Regions from separate parts of the Homo sapiens genome. Here regions 2, 3, 4 and 5 are each linked to region 1. Evidence: promoter capture Hi-C in 16 types of primary human blood cells and fetal thymus (Javierre and others, 2016). All regions are on one chromosome and are shown on one strand. Each heading gives the region's core, a stretch centred on a gene start or on the middle of the fragment in contact. The rest is flanking DNA. Distances are from core to core; before and after follow the strand shown.

What was found. Contacts are between HindIII fragments. The CHiCAGO score rates a contact against its expected background, and 5 or more counts as called.
Region 2: a contact is called between a fragment that was not itself captured here and the fragment with the promoter of STX7 in region 1, in 7 of 17 cell types (total CD4 T cells, naive CD8 T cells, total CD8 T cells and 4 more). The highest score is 13.2, in total CD4 T cells.
Region 3: a contact is called between a fragment that was not itself captured here and the fragment with the promoter of STX7 in region 1, in 6 of 17 cell types (non-activated CD4 T cells, naive CD8 T cells, total CD4 T cells and 3 more). The highest score is 11.1, in non-activated CD4 T cells.
Region 4: a contact is called between a fragment that was not itself captured here and the fragment with the promoter of STX7 in region 1, in 4 of 17 cell types (total CD4 T cells, neutrophils, naive CD8 T cells and 1 more). The highest score is 10.8, in total CD4 T cells.
Region 5: a contact is called between a fragment that was not itself captured here and the fragment with the promoter of STX7 in region 1, in 1 of 17 cell types (naive CD8 T cells). The highest score is 5.0, in naive CD8 T cells.

The regions. Positions count from the first base shown.
Region 1 is chr6:132,511,642-132,514,447 of GRCh38, reverse strand. STX7 (syntaxin 7) reads left to right here and starts at 1,332. Exons shown (of 10, transcript NM_003569.3): 1 at 1,332-1,441. RefSeq lists enhancers at 1,026-1,225, 1,583-2,084 and a silencer at 1,376-1,865. The HindIII fragment of the contact is 4,830 bases long and covers 1-2,806 here.
Region 2 is chr6:133,937,529-133,940,334 of GRCh38, reverse strand. No RefSeq gene overlaps it. Among named protein-coding and RNA genes, the nearest start is that of TBPL1, 14 kb to the left of the region's middle. The HindIII fragment of the contact is 2,003 bases long and covers 458-2,460 here.
Region 3 is chr6:133,921,373-133,924,178 of GRCh38, reverse strand. No RefSeq gene overlaps it. Among named protein-coding and RNA genes, the nearest start is that of TBPL1, 30 kb to the left of the region's middle. The HindIII fragment of the contact is 691 bases long and covers 1,057-1,747 here.
Region 4 is chr6:133,902,348-133,905,153 of GRCh38, reverse strand. No RefSeq gene overlaps it. Among named protein-coding and RNA genes, the nearest start is that of TCF21, 15 kb to the right of the region's middle. The HindIII fragment of the contact is 6,116 bases long and covers 1-2,806 here.
Region 5 is chr6:133,564,564-133,567,369 of GRCh38, reverse strand. All of the region lies in intron 5 of TARID (TCF21 antisense RNA inducing promoter demethylation), which reads left to right. Among named protein-coding and RNA genes, the nearest start is that of EYA4-AS2, 110 kb to the right of the region's middle. The HindIII fragment of the contact is 6,853 bases long and covers 1-2,806 here.

The DNA of each region.
Region 1 (2,806 bases), core at 83-2,582:
AAGTTTGTCTAGACTATAATTCTTTTTTTTCCCATTTGAATACCAAAGGATGAAATCTTATTCTAAGTTTTCAAAAGACCTGGAAGGAATCCACTCATAACATATTTTAAAACAAGGAATTGGAATGAGCCCAAGATGAGGGCTCAGACAGCTAAGTTTTGGGCCCAGCATAGTCAGTAACTATCAGGGTAACTTGAAGAGGCCACTTAATCTCAGGTTCTTCTGTAGTGCATTGTACCTTCCCTCCCCGGAGCCCAGAGTTCTATCAAAGGTAATATGAATGGGTATTTGGAAAGTGCACTAAACCTCACATGGATGTAAGATCCTTTCATGTGTTCCTTCAATGATTGAAATGTTTCTTCCTACGTTCACCAGCCACTTCCTAATTCTCAAGTACAATGCACTACTTTCAGTTCTTTATTTACTTGAACTTTGTGTAACAGGTGACATCATGGACAATTCCCTCCTTTTTTCCTTCATTCTCTAGTTTACCTTTTCCTGGTTTATTTCCTATCTTGTGGGTTACTCGTTTTCAGGGTTATTCTTTCTCTGTCCATCTCTCTTAAGCAGACAACATTCCACACTTAGTGTTGGTGAGTTCCAATCAGAATTCTATCCTGGGTTTTGTTTTTTTCCACCTAAGTGCGTCTGGACTTTTGATATCACCTATCCGGGTAATCATTTTAGAAAATAGTGTTGCCTTAATATAGGCAAAGGCTAAGCCAATCTATCTTCTAATTAATTTGGAGAGGGCTTTCTTTCATTTGTAGCAATTGATGCTTTTCATCTAACAATTACAATATATTTGCATATTTATCATTGGAACTGTCTCTGCTTGTTTTAAACCCTGTGAAAACTACGCCCTGCTTTTCAGGAATGCTTAGAATGACTTGTATGTACTAGGAAAACTTGTTTACAAGTGAGCACCCAGAGATGACTCTTCACTTATTCCTTCATTGTTCCTGCTAGGATTGTGTACTCGCCTTTGCATTTTTCGATAGAGCTGTCAACGCGATCTACTGCAGTTAAAGGTTAGCAAACAAGACAGGCAAGAGCTAATGGGGCGGGGTGAAGACCCGCGTGCAAGAAGGCTGGCTTCACCAGATAAAGAAGACAACTGTCCTCCATTCTGTCCTTTTTTGCACGCAGGCTAAGAGGCGTTCACCATCTCTACGTCAGGCTTCAAAGAACAGCTCCCTTGCAATTTTGCTGATACCCCCATTCCTTAGCTTGGAACCGGAGGGGCGGTGAGGGCCGCTGTCACTCAGCCCCGCGGGCCAATAGAAAAGGGGTGAACCCCGCCTTCTTCCTGAGTTGTGCTGCGGGCATGCGCACTGGGCGTCCCCACGCCACCGCCCATCAGCTGAGAATTGCAGCTGAGGGCTCCGGGGTAGGTGGGTGACGGCGGTCGGAGGTGTAGGAGGGAGCCGTGGAGGTCCAGGTAAGAGGACCCTGGGGAGGGGGCTCCCTGGCCGGGCGACAGGGAGGCGCGGTGCCCCTGCGGCTGCTGCGCCTTCTTGTTTGTGCGCGTGGTCAGGTGGCCGCCGCCCTGCGCTCTGCAGCAGGCACTCGGGAGGCTAGGAAGGGCGGGACTGCCCCAGCTCCCGGAGCGCCTGCGGCTCCCCACGCCCCCCGGCCGGGTGCAAGGGCGCGGCGCGTTCCGCATTCCGGGTGCGCGCGGCTGTGGTCAGGTGGGCCTACCCAGCCACGCACCCGCCGCGGTCCCCTGGGCAGAGCTCCGGAGGCGCACGGCTGGCGGAGCGCACCCCGGGGAGGGCGCCAGAGCCGGCTGGGGCCCAGCTCAGGAATCCAGACACGACCAAATGACCTCTTCCTCTTTTCAACTCACGGATTGAAAAACACACTAAACTTCCCGAATATAGAGGAACTGAAAAATGTATGGCTGTAGCAGGCGAACCGTGTATGTTTATTTATTCAGAGGATCGTAGTATTGTTTTTTTAATTTGGCTTGATGACTTTAACATACTTTGACATTCTTTGAGTATACACCTTTAATTAATTTACATAAAAACCTTTAAACGTACATAAAATATTTCTAGTATTTCCTCCACCTTGTTTTCTAGTTACTTTCTTTAAATTCAGACAAAGAAAAAAAGTTGCATTTCTGATCAAATGCTGTGTGTTTTTTCCCACAAATTTCTTACATTTGTTTGGCTCTTATCTGTATACGTTAATTTTTGTTTACCTCAGATCGTTGTATTCTGACTATAATTATATATAATATATAAAACTTGCCCAGAATCTGGAAGAAAAGAAAGTAATTATGAAATGCTGTGCTATTTAATAATGTTGGAAGTGGACATTTCTTCTGCAGGTTCTCTGAGCACACCTGGGCAGAGGCTGATAACGGTGTTAAACTGTGTTTTGTGTTGTGGACAGGCCTTATAGGCTACTTTGAGAAGTTGGCCTCAGACTCGTGACTAGTTAAGAATTATGCTCTTAACTTCACAGTTTCTGTAGAGGTTAATATGATACCATATTAACTGATTAACATCATAATTTTTCCTCAGATATGTTACTTATGTTGCTCTTGATAACAAAATCAATCCTTATTTTGGTTATGACCCCAAACTTTAAGTGCTGATGATTGAAAAGTAAATTATAGAAAATATTCACAGTAAGTCTGAGTGAAGTTTGCTGTGATTCCATTTAATTTGCAAGTTTCATGTGTGAAAGTATGAAAAAAACAATCCTCGGTATTGTGAACTAAAACCAAGTAGTACAAAAGGTCAGTGATGAAAGAGCTAAGGCCAAAGAATACAGTTAATGTAGTTTTTGCAGAGGA
Region 2 (2,806 bases), core at 210-2,709, 1.4 Mb before region 1:
AAAATAAAAAAAAACGTATAGCAAATATAACACAGGAAGAAAGAAATGAACCTCTGGATTTTGGTAATTGACCAAACATTCTGAAGAAAACTATTAAAAATGCTGGGGAAAAAATCTAAAATCCTTTTTAAAAGCAAATACTGAACAGAGAATAAGATACTGTAAGACCAAAATTAGGAACGAAAAAGAACCAAGAGAGATAAATAAGCAGTAGAAGGTGTTTATGCTTTGTAGGGGTAATGACAACTTGAACTTTCGTTTTGATGTCCCCACTGAGTGAAAGGTATGGCAATTGCCCAGGGATTGCACAAAGCAGGAAGCTGAACAGGAAGGAGATCCTCCTGACAGTGAGGTAGGAAATGAAAGGGCTGTGTCCTTAGGGCAAGAATATACCTGAAATAAACAAATCCTCTTTTGGTTGTTTCCATCATGGTGACGGTCCCGGGAATTTCAAGCTTTGAACTTAGATTAAGGTAGTCTCAGACTGATGGTGTCCTTAGGTGCCTAGCAGAAACAAAGATATCTCTCTATAGGAAGGTGGATTCCTGTTAGGCTAGGATAGTTCCCACAAATACATTTTAAAGTACTATTACCAGAACATGTGTAGTCAAGTTTAAACAGACACATGAGGAAAGAAGACAACATAAGCAAGAACAAACAGAAATAACAAAGGCCATAGAACCACAAATACTTAATATTTGGATTTAGCAGGTTATAAAACAGGTAATAAAACTATAGTTATTATTTAATGAAATAAAAGATAAATTTGAAATATCTTCGGGAAAAATTACGTTGCAGATATTTAAAAAAGGACCAAAGAATAAAATAAATTTATATGGTTCAGAAATTCTCCACTGTTTTAGTCTTCTGGTGGCACTCCATACTGGTTTTTAGTGCTGCTACGAATTAATTTTTTTTTCTTTGAGACGGAGTCTCACTCTGTCACCAGGCTGGAGTGCAATAGCACAATCTTGGCTCACTGCAACCTCCACCTCCTGGGTTCAAGCGATTCTCCTGCCTCAGTCTCCCAAGTAACTGGGATTACAGGCATGCGCAACCACACCTGGCTAATTTTTTTTTTTTTTTTTGTATTTTTAGTAGAGATGAGGTTTCACCATGTTGGCTAGGCTGGTCTCAAACTCCTGACCTCAGGTGATCCACCCACCTCAGCCCCCCAAAGTGCTGGGACTCTAGGTGTAAGCCACCATGCCTGGCCTGAATTAATTTTTATGTTTATGTTTTTACATAATTTTTATTTTTACATTTCTTCAATTTAATTGCATTTTGAAAGGGCAAGGAGGTAAATATGCATTTTAGGCCACCTTGAAAGCCAGTTGATGACTTTAACGGCAGACTAAATACAGTTGAAAAGAGAATTGGTGAACTAGGAGCTAGGTCAGAAAAACAATAATTTAAAAGTGAAACAGAGAGACAAAAAGAAAACACAGAATAAGAATTAAAAGAAATAAACAACAGAGGAGAATAGATTAATATACATCTCATCAGAATCTAGGAAGGAGAGGAGAGAGAAATGGGGCAAAGGTAATATCTGAAGAGATAATGGCTGAGAATTTTACGGAAGTGATGAAAGACACTAATGTACATGAAAGACACTAATGTACAGGTTAAGACAACCCAGTGAGTCTCAAGCAAAATAAACAAGAAGAAACCTATATCTAAAATTGTCATAATGAAACAGCTGAAGAGCAAAGCTAAAAAAAATAGAAAAAGAAAAGAAAATAGTGAAAACAATCAGAGAAAAGTGATGAATTGCTTTCAAAGGAGTAAATATGAAACTGACATGACTGCTCAGCAGCAGCAAGAGACATCAGAAGACAATGGAGGGGGATCTTCCACTTACTGAGAGAAAATTACTATCTAGTCTTAATGTCTAGTGAAAAATATTTTAATAGTGAGGCTGAAATAAAGACATTTTCAGGCTAATGAAGACTAGTAGTTTTTCCTAAGCAGAATCATACTAAAGAAAGTTATAAAAAAAGTGCGTTAGGCAGATAAAAAAAATGTAAGCTATAAAAAGGTATAAAGAACAAAGAAAGTGGTGAATAAATAAGTTAATATACACTGAAAGAGTAAAAGAACAACAATATAGCATCTAAAAAATAGAAAAAAATGCAATTACAAGTATCACATATGTTGAAGAGGGTCAAATGGAATCAAATATCCTAAGCAGCTTGTATGAAGGGTAAAGGTTAAGTATGCATGTTGTAATTCTAGGATAATTACTAAAAGAATAGAAACAAATTACACAATCTCCCAGCAGTAAAGGGAAAAAATTGGATGATAAGAAACAATTTGTTGAAAGAAGCAAGAAAAAAGAGAAAAGTATATACTGAATAGGTAGAACAAATAGCACACCATAAGATGGTAAATTAAAACCCAAATATGTAGACAATTACATTAAATGTATATGAACTAAATACTCCAGTTAAAAGTCAAGCTTATCAAGCTTGACTGATTAAGAAAAACAAAACAGGACAGGCACAGTGGCTCAGGCCTGTAATCCTAGCACTTTGGGAGGCTGAGGTGGGTGGATCACTTGAGGTCAGGAGTTCAAGACCAGCTTGGCCAACATGGTGAAACCACATCTGTACTAGAAATACAAAAATTAGCAGAGCTTGATGGCGCATATCTGTAATCCCAGCTACCTGGGAGGCTGAGGCAGCAGAATCACTTGAACCTGGGAGGTGGACGTTGCAGTGAACCCAGGTTGCAGTGGAGCCACAGCACTCCAGCTTGGGTGACAGAGTGAGATTCCATTTCAAAAAAAGAAAAAGAAAAACAAAAC
Region 3 (2,806 bases), core at 153-2,652, 1.4 Mb before region 1:
AGATCCCTATTGTGAACATACAGAAAAGGAAATGAGAGACAAGGCTGCCACCATGTGGTGTAACAGGTGAACAGGAAGGAGGGGTTTATACAGAGAAGCATAAGAATTGGGAAGCTTATGAAAGGTGAATGTCCATTCATTAGAACAGTAATTGTCAACCGTTTATAATTGCTGTCATGACTCGGTGAGATCTACAAGTTTCTGAAATCCTCCTTATGGTACATCAGGAACTCCTGGACAGCCATTAGACCTAGCCATGCAGCTGCCTTAAAACTTAGGAAGATTTTATAATTGACAGATGTCCATGGATTGAGAGGTCTATAGAAGGCCCTTAGGAATATTTTTTATCTAAAAGTAGACCTACATATGTTTAATTTTATTTTATAAAATCAAATTAAGTAAACCAATATTATGGGATATTACACTATTAACCTTCTTTTTTTTGTGTTCCCATCTTTTTTACCATCAGATAGCTTTGGCATGATAGTCATATTCTATACATGAGATTATTTAATTAAATCGAATTTAAAAAATGCTAAGTGAAGCAAGTATTTAAGAAGTCAATATTTAAATAGGTTTTGCTTTCAGTAGTTACATAAGTTGTATTCTAGTTTGAGTGTCACAGAAATGGGCATGAGATATATTTTTGTTAAACATAAGAGGGAAGCACAAGTGAACTCACTGCTCGAGTTTCATAAAAGCCACTCTGTAGATGTGATGCTCCCAGCAAGCTGACCCAGGGTAAGAAGCAAGGCAATGAAAGATCAATCCACCAAAAATACTGTAGCAGCTGCTATCCTTGTCCTAGACAATCACAAATTGCTCATGGCATGTACCCACATATCTGCACTACTTCACCCAGAATCAGTGAGAACGGGCAGGGGGCAACATATCAGCGGCTCTTCCTCTGCTAATCTAAAAGAATTAGAAATAGGCTGCTCCCTATAAAATTGCCTGACATTCTTAAAACAGCCTAATAATCTCAAAGGAGCAATTTCCTTTATTAATTGAAAGCAGCTGAAAAATATATTAGCCTCATTTTATATTTTTAAAGCTTAAATATCTAAAGTATTGGAAACAAAGAAAACTGTACATCAGAGGGGAAGCAAAAGGTGACTAGATTGGGCCCTGGCCTCATGGCATGGTCAAGATGTTGAGCCGGCCAGGCGCGGTGGCTCATGCCTGTAATCCCAGCACTTTGGGAGGCCAAGGAGGGTGGATCAATTGGGGTCAGGGGTTCCAGACCAGCCTGGCCAACATGGTGAAACCCTGTCTCTACTAAAGTTACAAAAATTACCCAGGTGTGATGGCATATGCCTATCATCCCAGCTACTTGGGAGTCTGAGGCAGGAGAATCACTTGAACCCAGGAGGGTGGAGGTTGCAGTGAGCCGAGATCGTGTACTCCAGCCTGGGTGTCAGAGTGAGACCCTGTCTAAAAAAAGAAAAAAAAAGTTGAGTCCTGGAGTAAGACTTATTTGGACTAAAATACCAGTGTCACCGCTTAGATGATGACTTTGGTGAAGTTATTGAACCCCTCCCGTCTTCAGTTTCCTCATCTGGAAAATAGCCTGTCCTCTGGGTTGTGGCAAGGATTATAGAGGTAAAGCCATGCAGAGCACTTAGCACAGTGTCTAGCATTTACTCAGCACTCCATAAATGCTAGGCTAATAGAATCACCCAGAACTAGAGATGTGAATACAGCTAGATTCTGAGCACACTCACAATGAAAGTTAAAGAGAAAAGCTTAACTTCTATTGCATTTTTTAGACATTTACAAAAAATATGTGTCATCCAAAAAGCAATAGTTGAATGCCTGCAGGATTTCTCAAAGGCAGGACCTTAGTTGAGGCACCACATTTTCAGCTTAGAACTTGGAATTTCTTAGCACATCACATCAAAAAATTAGTCCCTTTGTGAAAAGTTCGTCCTGAGTTAGTGACTAGAGCACCAATATTCTAGTCAAATGATCTTACATTCAGAGTTTTAGATTCATCACTTACTAGTTGTGAGTTCTTGAACTTCAGTTTTCTCATATTGTAAAGTAAGAATAACGGCCGGGCGCGGTGGCTCATGCCTGTAATCCCAGCATTTTAGGAGGCTGAGGCAGCCGAATCACGAGGTCAGGAGTTCAAGACTAGCCTGGCCAATATGGTGAAACTCCGTCTCTACTAAAAATACAAAACTTAGCCGGGAGTGATAGTGGACGCCTGTAATCCCAGCTACTAGTGAGGCTGAGGCAGAAGAATCGCTTGAACCCGGGAGGCGGAGGTTGCAGTGAGCCGAGATTGCGCCGCTGCACTCCAGCCTGGGTGACAGAGTGAGACTCCTTAAAAATAAATAAATAATAAGAGTAGTAGCAAGTACTTATAGACAGCTTACCAAAAGTATAGCACTCACTATGTTACCACTGCAGCAGGGAGATAATGTATGTAAACACCTATCCTAGAGCAAGCCTCAATAAGTTTATTTTATTACCTTGGAATTCTTTGATGGTGGTGTCTAGAGAAACCCTGGGATTTAGGAATTTGGGAATGGACTAACAAATCCATTTTGACTTATGAATGGAAAAAGAAGAATATAGGAGGAAATGATTTGGCAGTGTTCCAGTTATCAATTTGTTGTCTCTCAGCTCCAAATCCACTCCTGGTTGCCTGTTCAGCTGGAAACCCACTGTTCTGGAGCCAGTCTCTACCAGCATCTCTCCTTTGCAGCTGGCACGATGCTAAACTTTATCAGTAGAGGGCGCTGGAGGGACACTGTAAGGAGAAGTGTTTCCTCTTTCGAATTCATCCACTGTGCCCCTC
Region 4 (2,806 bases), core at 138-2,637, 1.4 Mb before region 1:
AAACTCATTCATCTCAGTCAATCATTCTCTTAACCTGCAGAATGGTTAGACTTCCCTCTATGGCAAGAGGAAAAAAAAGTTAAATTAAAAATTGAGTCCTAGTAGTGAACTAAGTGATTTCTGGTGGGGTATAAAATAAGAAGCAATTTAGAAATGTGTATCAACATCCTAAAACTGGTCATGATCTTTGGCCCAGAAGTCTACTTCTGGAAGATGGAGACAAGGATCTAAGATGGGCATCCCAGCTCCAAGCAAAACTGCAAAATCAGACACAACCTAAATACCTGGAAATCATGGAATGGTTAGCTAAACTGTAGATGGAACAAATAACATATGATAAAATATTAAATGTTTTGAAGGTTTAGCAAGTTCTCGGAGTACCATGCTCTCTTCTCACAGAGGGACATCATCCTTCTCTTCTCAGCCCCATTTTGCTTATGCAGCCATAAGCAAAGTTGAGATGGGTCCCAGACCTAGGGTCATAACAGTAACTAAACAGATGTGAATGTATAATTCGTTTCAGGATTTTTTTTTAAATATTATGGAATGTGGAGAAGGAACTCATTCTAATGAGAGAGAGACAGTCTTAGAAGCAATTTCATGCTCTTTTTGGTATTGGTCCTAACTAGTTTTTAAGACTTCCTATAGCATACAGTTGAGACCGGGTGGGGTATTTATCAGACCAAATAACAGTCTGGTTCAAAAACCTTGGGATTCTTCTCTAGAGTTGTAACTTTTAAAAAATTGTTTTTAATGTTAGAAGGAACTTTAGAAATCTTACTGGTGAAGAAACCAAGGCACAGAGAGATTAAGTGACAGTTTGGATTATAATACCAAAAGACACATTTTTAAACACCATAATTGTTAATGTTGAAATCCTGAAAGAGCAAAATCCTCAAACTCTAAAAATCCTAAAATCCCCAAATCCCAAAATCTCAAACATCACCATCACAGGATAGTTGGATTATATTTGACAAGCTCTTATGAACCATCTCCATGCAAATTGCCCAAATCTATCCCTATATTATACTTGTTTATATGCTGAATTTTCTTTTTAGTTTTTAAATTTGCTTTTCCTTTTTTTAAAAATTTTCACTATTTTAAATTGTCAGCATTATTTCTTATAATTCTACACGCTATGTATTTAATCTTCACATCATTTCCAATATTGGAGGTATAAATCGTATAGAGACTTTTAGAGCATTCTAATTTGTTTTATGCATGTTTTGCAAATTTGACTCCATGAAGATGCATTATCAGAATGTTGCCTTTGTGTGTAAGCATTGTGCATGTACATAAAAATGTTAAAACTTCTTCAATAAATGAATAGATGTTCTTTTGTACATCTGCATTTGTGAAAGGTAAGATTTCTCAAGATCTCAGCTCTTAGGGTAACTGTATATGTGGTGGTGACCCATTGAGGTTTTCAATTGATCTTATCAGAAGGTTATGGTTGTTCATCATGGTATTTCAGATGGCCAGAGTTATAAAGTTGGGTACACTCAACTACCAACCATAGTGATATGCATTGATCCATTTCCTTTTCTGACCTACTTCCTTGTGAATACAATTTGTCTGCTCATAACTGTTTTGTCCATGTGACTGTCACTAGTATGCCTGAGTGCCTATGTTTGCAAAAATATATACATTATTATGGCTTATTTTATTATGTAAAGTGGCCTATGAAGCCTTCTGTTGCATTTTTATGCTTCTCAAGTAAATCCCCTTTTTAAAGTATAAATAAAAATCTTTTAAAAAATTAAATTTTTTTTTCAGAATTATATTTTTGAGATTCTGATCTTTTGGGATTCCAACATTCAGGTTTATAGCATTTGGGATTGTGTCTTTTGGGATTATGATCAGCTTCCATTAAAGGATTTGCTTGGGGTCAGAGCAGCTAGATGGCAGAGCATCCAAGCTCAAGTCTATCTATGAGCTTTTGAAAATACCACTTTTTGGTTGGTGTTATGGGTCACGCCAGTAATTCTAGCACTTTGGGAGGCCAAGGTGGGCTGATCGCTTGAGCTCAGGAGTTTGAGAACAGCCTGGGTAACATGGAGAAACGCTGTCTCTATAAATAATATTAAAAAATTAGCCAGGCAAGGTAGCACACAGTAGTCCTAGCCACTTGGGTGGCTGAGGTGTGAGGATCGCTTGAGCCCAGGACATAGAGGCTGTAGGGAGCCAAGATCGCGCCACTGCACTCCAGCCTGGGTGACAAAGTGAGACCCCGTCCCCCCCCCCCAAAAAAGGAAATATTACTTTTTAAAAAACTTATTCTAATACATTTGAATGTACCTGATATGAAATATTGAGAAGGATAGTGGAATTCAGTATCATATAATTTATGAGTTAATGTATAAGATTCAAAAGAGAAGAAAAAGCAAAAGACAGGTTCTAGAGACAAAAAGGTTTGGAAAATTGATGAACTGTTTGAGGGGATGGTCCCTAAGATGATGCAGAGGGCCTTGGGAGGTGGGGAATGAAAAATTAGCTCAGCTATCACTCTGATGGTCTATCATTCATAGTTTTTGAGTTGATTTTCCAGTAGTGGAGGTAAGTTTCTGTGAACACATCTATCATATTTAAAAATTTTTTCACTTAGGACCAAAAGTACATATTTACAAGATGGCTGCCCATATCCATGTAGCAGAATGATGGCCCACCGTATATAGCTCATCTCCAAATGGCCAGAGTCCAATTTCAGCCTTGGGAAAATAAAAACCTCCAGGACAACTACCTTAGATACAGGGAGGGATCTTTTGGAATCACTTCTTCAGATACTTGCCCACCATTGGTTAATTGG
Region 5 (2,806 bases), core at 220-2,719, 1.1 Mb before region 1:
TCACAGAGCCAAGTTTCCACACCCACCGTGTTTTATGTTTGTTTGTTTGTTGTTTGGTTTGGCATGCTCATGGCCTATGCCACTGTATAGGAAACTGACATCCTGCAAATGAAAATCATATCCCCAATTCAAGTTGGTTCAGAGCCCAAAGATCCCCAGAACACTGGGTTGAATGATGCAGTAAAGTATTTTGAAAATTAGTCTGCTTTTCTCCACCTGCACATCCTCTCCCTCTTTGTAGCTTGGAGACCCATACACAATTCCAGAATCCTACAATTATTATTTTAATTAATTTGAGATGAACTAGTTCACAATACATTCTCATTATGTTCTCTGAAATCACTTCTGTTTATGTCTCTACTATAGCCCTTGTTGGAGTTTTGTTAGTTGTTTTTGTATCTACTGTTTTCATTTGTTATTAGAGCCCCTTAAAAGCAGAGACCATGTCTTCTTATTTATTTTTGTATTATTAGTACTTAGCACAGGATGTGCCTGTGGTGTTTTTTAAAGGTGATTTATCAATATTTTGCTGAGTAAATGGATGAATTGATGAGTGATTGAGGTACATTGTAATAAATGAATTGTAGATAAACTGAGACCAGGTCAATTCATTTATATTCACTTACATGGCTAGCCTTTAAGTTTCTGTTTGAGATGGGCTGTCAGGAGCTTAAACAAATTAAAAATAAGAAGAAACAATACCCCAATTAGGAAAATGTTCCATAGTGTTTAGTTTAGTATACAAAATGGAATTAAAAAGAGGCACCCTGGAATATTATAACATGTAACTCAAGCTATAAGTTCATTTTGTCCATAAGTCTCAGGTGTGCTATATTTTGGAGGAAAATCTAGGTTTGGTGGTCAGCAGTGAGAATGATGACTGATTTCTGATGGTGGGTTATCTAGGTGGGTGAAGTAGAAAATCATAGATGCCACTTCATGGCTTTTTGGGAGAGCCATTTTTATCATTTTTATTTTAAAAATGATAATTACTCTAAAACTTTTAGACCTCAAGATATATTTCTGATTAGGCACAAGTAACAATTGTAATATAGTAAAACTCAAATTAAATACCTGTAGTTTTGTCTTTGCTTCTTTCTTCTCCCCTCCATCCCCCAGCAGAATTGAATATTTTTAGATTGTTTATCTGAGTGCTGGTGTCTGATCTTGGTAAACTTGTTGACTGTGCTTACTCTGTGGGTACAATTATTTGAACAGAATCAATTCTAGTTTTCTAAATGGGCAGTTTTACTTCCAAAAATTATAAACCCTTTGCCTACTGGGATTTGTTACAATTATCTAAGTTGGTTTACTTCTTACAAAAATTATAATCCTGTGTTTCTGAGACCAATATTTTATTAATACCTGAGGAATAAGATATATTCTCATTCAGCCCTTTCCTAGTGATGATTCTTATCCTTCCTAATCTTCTTTGGGGAGTATGAAAGGAATCACCCAAGGTTGTTCCTTTTATTGCTGTTTTGAAATGTTTAGCTCTGTGCCCAGAAATTGACTATGCACAAGGTATAGGAGTAGAATATACACTCTTGATAACCTGGCTCCTTGGTCATGTGAACTGTATCTTGATATTAATACAGGAGCTACCAACAGGTTAAAAGGTACCTTAAAAATTGAGATAACCCTTTTGAGAAAAAAATATTGAACAGTTTTTCCCACTTCTTTTTCTTAAAACATTATTTGCTATGTTTTTAAAAGTTACCTAATTCAATAGTCACCAAGATTTCAGTATAATGACCCAGTTTCAAGTTTTCTAATATCAAAGAACAATTATAAACATTCATAAGGTAGAGTAAATAGTACCATATAACCTTGATATAACCATTACTCAGATTCAAAAACTATCAATAGTTTATATTTGCTTGCCTATCACTTTTTCCTTTTTTTTTTGCTGAAATATTTGAAAGCAAATCTTATATTATTTCACCTCTACATAACAATGTTTTAACATAACCACAATGACATCATAACACTTAACAAAATTAAAAATTGTTCTTGGTCCCATATAATATTCAATTAATAACTGATTTCCCGGATTGTATCAAAATATGGTTTTTACTGTTTTTTGTAGAGGTTGCACACATCCAGTGTTGAAAACATAGCCGAATTCCCACATAATACACATTGATTAGGAACATGAAGATATATTACCTATGTGAACTTGGTAAAACTTTTAAATATAATTGTGTTTTGCTATTCTCCATATCATCAACATATATTTAGAAAACAATAGTGCATATGTGTGGTATTTTTCAGATTACACACAGTGTTAGATGACCATATGTATTTGTAGTATTTGTAATAATTTTGCCACCCCTCTTTAGGCTGTGAGTCTTTGATCTAGACTAGGTATGTTAAATGGTTAGAGAAAATGCTAATTTAGATAAAGATTTGTATTTATTTTGGGATTTGTTATGTTGTTACTGTATTTTGTTACTGGTTTCATTAAGAATTATAAACTATCCTCTCTTGGTGGAATTTTAGTTATAAGCCTGGATTATTATTCTAGTGATTTTCTAAGGCTTAATGCTATGGAATACTTAATGCATGAGATAATTTTGGATCTTTTGGCATACTAAAATCTGAGAGCTTCTTTATACTTGACTTTGCACTATTCCATTTTTATAATACTTGTTAGTTACTCATATATTCCTAAATTGTGAATTTTACATTATTCAAAAGTTATTTTTATAATTAAAATGATGCTTTATGAATTAAATTCTAAAAATTATAATCTTAAGGAACTGAAACTTACTCATTGTAGAACACTTAGAAACTACAGAAAAGG